Linked DNA regions of Homo sapiens: region 2 is linked to region 1. Evidence: promoter capture Hi-C in human tissues and cell types (Jung and others, 2019). All regions are on one chromosome and are shown on one strand. The core of a region is centred on a gene start or on the middle of the fragment in contact, and the rest is flanking DNA. Distances in the headings are between cores, read along the strand shown. Region 1 holds the start of CTSV (cathepsin V). Region 2 has its middle 24 kb from the start of SUGT1P4-STRA6LP-CCDC180.

Evidence for each region. Contacts are between HindIII fragments. The study calls those that stand out against the background at their distance.
Region 2: a contact is called between a fragment that was not itself captured here and the fragment with the promoter of CTSV in region 1, in 1 of the 25 tissues and cell types used here (heart right ventricle).

Annotation. Positions count from the first base shown.
Region 1 is chr9:97,037,674-97,040,733 of GRCh38, forward strand. CTSV (cathepsin V) reads right to left here and starts at 1,469. Exons shown (of 8, transcript NM_001333.4): 1 at 1,398-1,469; 2 at 245-380. The coding sequence starts at 370. RefSeq lists a silencer at 1,504-1,813. The HindIII fragment of the contact is 6,962 bases long and covers 1-3,060 here.
Region 2 is chr9:97,212,796-97,216,013 of GRCh38, forward strand. It overlaps the pseudogene ANKRD18CP. Among named protein-coding and RNA genes, the nearest start is that of SUGT1P4-STRA6LP-CCDC180, 24 kb to the right of the region's middle. RefSeq lists enhancers at 1,410-1,975, 1,976-2,539. The HindIII fragment of the contact is 4,674 bases long and covers 1-3,218 here.

The DNA of each region.
Region 1 (3,060 bases), core at 219-2,718:
AAGCCGATTTGCGGGCAGAAATGGAAGAGAAACCATGGCCAGGGATGGGTTGATACTTCTCTGGGAGCTGTTCTCCAAGCCAAGACACAATGGAGATATATGCCCATATTGCACCTATAATGGGTGCTGTTAGGTTATTGCCTGGTAAGGTCTGGTGTCTAGAAGCTACTCTCTGGCTATCAACTCCCAACAGCGAGGACCATTCTCTCCAGAGTCCCTCTGGACAGTTTCAGATGTTACCAACCGCGCCATATAATCTTCTGTGTGTTGCCTTCCACTGGTACCACTTTGTATCCAAATTTTGGTCAAATTTTGGAACAGCGGAGGCTATTCCCAAGCAAAAGGCAGCCAGGACGAGCGAAAGATTCATGTTTCAAAACCTAGAAAGAGAAAAGAAATGAGTATCTGATTAGACCAATCCTAAAAAGCCATCTTACAGCCCCCGTGGAATAGAAATATTTCAATTATTCTCCCTAGCATTTCCCCAAGGACTGTGGAAGAGGCTGAAACAGGCCAAGTGGAGGTATTTGATGGGCCCACCAAAATTAAAAGCAGCCTGCAGAGTTGGAGGCGTTGAAACAGCATATGCGATAATTTAGGGTATGAGAAGGGTGTGAAAGATACCTGACGGGTGAGAAGCTTAAGGCAACAACTAGAAAACTAGGAAAGAGTTGGTCCAGGTTTTGCACCAATTGTACTGAGGTCATCCAGGCAAAACCTCACTAATGAAGACGTACCATCCCAAGTAGATGCAAGCGGATCCCCAAGGAACACCACCTCACACCTTCTTGGCTGATACACAGCAGGAGATGAGCTATGTCTTCCAACCTCTCCTTTTGGAATAAAACCTTTCGGGAATCCCTTTCCAGGAGACACTGGGAAGGAGAGCACCCACTATTCCCGCCGTCCCACACTTGGGTCTGTGCTACTCGCTCCCCTAAACCGGGGCAGGGTCACAAGGCCGCGCCGCTGGAAGCCAGGGGCCCCAGGGCCAGGGCCCGGACCGAGGCAGGCAGCTCCCGGAGCTCCGGGCGGGCCAGGACCGGGGCCGCACCGCCTGCTCTCGCCCTCTGCACGCGCCGCCGCGCCCCGAGAATGTTTGCGGCGGTGCAGGGAGCGGGGGCTCCGCGGCCAGGCTGGGGGCATGAAGCCGCCCGGTCCGGTCCGGCTTCAGCCCACAGGATGACTGACCTGCCCCGCCCGGGCCCTCCCAGTGGTGCCGGCGCCTCCCTGGGGTCTCCAACCGCCCTCCCCCGTTCCCCACCTCGAGGCTGGCAGAGCTCCGGGCAGAAGCTCTCACTCCCAGAAGCGCCCGCCTCCTCTCAGTGTCCCTAAAGGGGGGTTCCCTCCTCCAGTCCCCCTTCGCCCTGTCCCTCGGTCTGGTCGGGGGCGCTCACCAGCAGCCGTCGCAGCTGCGCAGGCACCCTCAGCAAACAAGCCTCTGAGATTACAGACGTCCGCGGTCTGGTGCAGGTTCGCCCGCCTCGGGATTTAAGTTTCCAGGCGGCCTTCCCCGCCCCCACCGCCTTCCCGCGCTGCGATTGGCTGTGCCGGCCACTGGGCGGGGCCCCGGGCGCTTAGAGCCCGCGCGTGACGCAGCCCAGTCCCAACCCGTCTCAGGTCTGGGCGCGCCTACCTCAATACACCCTGGCTGCGGGAAGCTGGGCCGGGCGCCCGGGGGCTGCGCGGAGGAGGGGGAGGCGCCTCCCTCAAGGGCTCAGATCTACTGACTATCCCGACTTACTGCGCTGAGCGGGTGGTTTACAGCGAGCTCTGTGTGGTATTTCAGTCCCTACTTTAACTTAGTCCTAGAGTTTTTGGTGAAAATCTGCAGGGCCGGGAGCCAGGGTACTCTCGTTCAGTGGCTCCTGTTTAGTCCACGGCAAAGGTGGGACGGAGTGGAAGAACGCACAGCCCCCAGCAGAAGCATTACCTTCCACTTAAGGGTGGGTGCATCAGGGCTTTAGAAGAATCTGGTAAGGAAAGGCACTCCCAAAACACGGGATGGATGGTCGAGACCGGACACCAGGAGGGACGGGACTAGCTGATAGGGTGTCCAGAGACCGCGGAGCGTTTTGTGGTGCGTCCTTCCCAGTCTGTTGCATTCAGGAATTCTTCCTTCTCCCATGTCTTTCAATACCAAAAAAAAAAAAAAAAAAAAAAAAAAGAGTTACAGAAATATTTGGTTAATAAAAAAGAGAAAAGCGTTGAGAATGGTGAAATAAATTGCTTTAAAAATTTTTCTTTTGTAGAAATGGAGTTTGGCTAAGTTTCCTTAGGCTGCTCTTGAATTCCTGGCCTCAAGCGATCCTCCCCTCTCAGCCTCCCAAAAGTGGTGGGATTACAGGCGTGAGCCACTACGCCCAGTCTGAGAGTGGTGGAAATTGCTTTTACTTACCTACTCTCTGCTTATGGGTTACAACGTCTCTTCCTCAGTATTCAAAGTGTGCTTCTTTTGAGATTTAATAAATTTACTTTAAAAATGTTTAATACCGGCCGGGCGCGGTGGCTTACACCTGTAATCCCAGCACTTTGGGAGGCCGAGGCGGGCGGATCACGAGGTCATGATATCGAGACCATCCTGGCCAACATGGTGAAACCCTGTCTCTACTAAAAATGCAAAAATTAGCTGGGCGTGGTGGCGGGCGCCTGTAGTCCCAGCTACTCAGGAGGCTGAGGCAGGAGAATTGCTTGAACCCGAGAGGCGGAGGTTGCAGTGAGCTGAGATCGTGCCACTGCACTCCAGACTGGTGACAGAGCGAAACTCTGTCTCAAAAAATAAAAATAAAAATAAAAATATATAATATCAGGGTTGAGGTGATGCAGTTTGAGGAACTGCTCTTTATGGAGAAATATATGTAGCTAAAGATTTAAGGAAATCATTAATAATTCAGAAACGTTTCTAATTCTTTTTAAAGTTATATAAAAAAATCCATTATAAAAAATATGTTTTAGAAAATAAACGTCCCTTGTGCCCTCTCCATAACCCTTTTCTAGGCATATCTTTTTTTGTTTTTACAAAAATGAAGTTATAATGCATATTGATTAATAAACTCTTAA
Region 2 (3,218 bases), core at 662-3,161, 180 kb after region 1:
GAACCTTGGCAGCAGAGGTTGCAGTGAGCTGAGATCACGCCACTGCACTCCAGCCTAGGCGACAGAGTAAGACTCTGTCTCAAACAAAACAAAACAAAACAAAAAAACCGTGAAGCTAAAGGAAACTCATGATTGAGATGAACAGGTATGGCTCATTTTAGTGAACACTTAGATTTACAGAATATATGCAAATCAGACTTTCCAATGATTAATATTAGTATTTAAGACTGATAAATTTTCAAAAGGGCAGTTAAAGCTTATCTCTTATTGTTTTCTACCTTCAGAAATGCTTTTGCTTGAAAGGTGGGAGGAAAAGCTTCAATAAGATTAAGTCCTACTATTCCCATTTTAAATCTCTCATCTTGCTGAGGCAGAACAGGTAAACAAAGTTTTTAAGTATGGAAGGGTCCTGGGAGATAGTGCAAAAAGTCTGCTACATAACATATTCAGGTTATGTTTGATGAATAAATGGATTGATAGAATAGAGTTGGGGAGCTCAATATTTTTAAATACAACTTCTATAAACCAATATTTTTGTGATAGTAATAATATTTGCTATTTGTTATTTTTATAAGACTACAACTATAATGAAATTATTAATCTATCATTGTTTGCCTATATGTAATGAATCTATACATAAGAAAAACATATACACATAATAAAGTATATACATAAAATCTGCAAGCAGATAAAAAGATTCCCTTTTTACTTCTGAAGAAGCTAAAAGTTCAAACAAGATAACAACCCTCACAATAATAATGATAAAAAATAGTGAGAAATTATTTTTATCTATACAAGATTCACATTTCTCTCTTCCCAAAATTTATTCCATTAATAATATATTTTTACTAGAAATTTTATAAATGCTCACTTCAGAAATCAAACGTAAGAAAAAGGAACAAAAAACTTTAAAATACAAATGCTCAGAAGTTACAAATTTTATCCTATTTTGTACATAGTTTTACCTAACACCAGACCATAGTATGTTTGTGTGTATGTGCAAGCAAACTGATTTCTTTTTCCTCACTGGCTGTAACAAAATGCATTTTCACACATCAACATACTTCTCTACCTATTGCCACCTTCAATGGCCACATATCCGTTCTATGGGTTCTTGTTAACATAAATGCTGGGGAAAAAAGTGCATGTATCTCTATTTTCTGAAGGTATTTTATTACAATGGAATTGATGGGTAAAGGGCATATACATTTTTAAAATGTGGTAATTATCTCCAAATTATCCACTTGAAAAGTCATCAGCAAGTTAAACTTCAAGCAGCAGTGTAAGTGCCACTGCTCTTTATTCTCACAAACACTGTGGATGGAAAACAGTCTCATTCCTCTTTTAACTTAAATTCTCTTATGAGAAACACTAAGGAATTTTTCCTATGTACATAAGTAACTTGTGGATCTGCAAAAAGTACTTTGCTCACTTTTAGACTTCTTTTCTTTCGGATTTGATTGGAAAGAATTCCCTGTAAAATAAAGTTGTGCTTTTTATCTGTATATATATATAACTGATATATATAACATTATATTAGTAATACATACAATTTGTTATACATATAATCAGTAATATATATATTATATATAATAAAGAATAAATTCCCTGTAGGATGAAGATACACTTTTCATCTGAATACATATTTTTATATATTAGTAAAAATATATATGGTAAATATTTTTCAGGTGTGTTATCTGTCAGGCCTCTGAGCCTAAGCCAAGCCATCGCATCCTCTGTGACTTGCACGTATACGCCCAGATGGCCTGAAGTAACTGAAGAATCACAAAAAAAGTGAATATGCCTTGCCCCACCTTAACTGATGACATTCCACCACAAAAGAAGTGTAAATGGCCGGTCCTTGCCTTAACTGATGACATTACCTTGTGAAAGTCCTTTTCCTGGCTCAAAAAGCACCCCTACTGAGCACCTTGCAACCCCTACTCCTGCCCACTGAGCACCTTGCGACCCCAACTCCTACCCGCCAGAGAACAAACCCCCTTTGACTGTAATTTTCCTTTACCTACCTAAATCTTACAAAACGGCCCCACCTTTATCTCCCTTGGCTGACTCTCTTTTCGGACTCAGCCCACCTGCACCCAGGTGAAATAAACAGCCATGTTGCTCACACAAAGCCTGTTTGGTGGTCTCTTCACACGGACACACATGAAATTTGGTGCCGTGACTCGGATCGGGGGACCTCCCTTGGCAGATCAATCCCCTGTCCTCCTGCTCTTTGCTCCATGAGAAAGATCCACCTACGACCTCGGGTCCTCAGACCGACCAGCCCAAGAAACATCTCACCAATTTCAAATCCGGTAAGCGGCCTCTTTTTACTCTCTTCTCCGACCTCCCTCACTATCCCTCAACCTCTTTCTCCTTTCAATCTTGGCGCCACACTTCAATCTCTCCCTTCTCTTAATTTCAATTCCTTTCATTTTCTGGTAGAGACAAAAGAGACATGTTTTATCCGTGAACCCAAAACTCCAGCGCCGGTCATGGACTAGGAAGGCAGCCTTCCCTTGGTGTTTAATCATTGCAGAGACGCCTCTCTGATTATACACTCACGTTTCAAGGGTGTCAGACCACGCAGGGACACCTGCCTTGGTCCTTCACCCTTAGTGGCAAGGGCAAGTACCCCTCAACCCCTTCCCCTTCACCCTCAGCGGCAAGTCCCGCTTTCCTGGGGCAGGGGCAAGTACCCCTCAACCCCTTCCCCTTCACCCTCAGCGGCAAGTCCCGCTTTCCTGGGGCAGGGGCAAGTACCCCAACCCCTTCCCCTTCACCCTCAGCGGCAAGTCCCGCTTTCCTGGGGCAGGGGCAAGTACCCCCAACCCCTTCTCCTTCACCCTTAGCAGCAAGTCCCGCTTTCCTAGGAGGCAAGAACCCCCAATCACTTATTTCCGCACCCCAACCTCTTATCTCTGTGCTTCAATCCCTTATTTCTGCACCCTGACCTCTTATCTCTGTGCCCCAATCCCTTATTTCTGTGCCCCAACCCCTTCTCTGCTTTTCTGGAGGGCAAGAACCCCCCACCCCTTCTCCGTGTCTCTACTCTTTTCTCTATGCTTGCCTCCTTCACTAAAGGTAAGCTTCCACCTTCCATTCCTCCTTCTTCTCCCTTAGCCTGTGTTCTCAAAAACTTAAAACCTCTTCAACTCACACCTGACCTAAAACCTAAATGCCTTATTTTCTTCTGCAATGCCGCTTGACCCCAA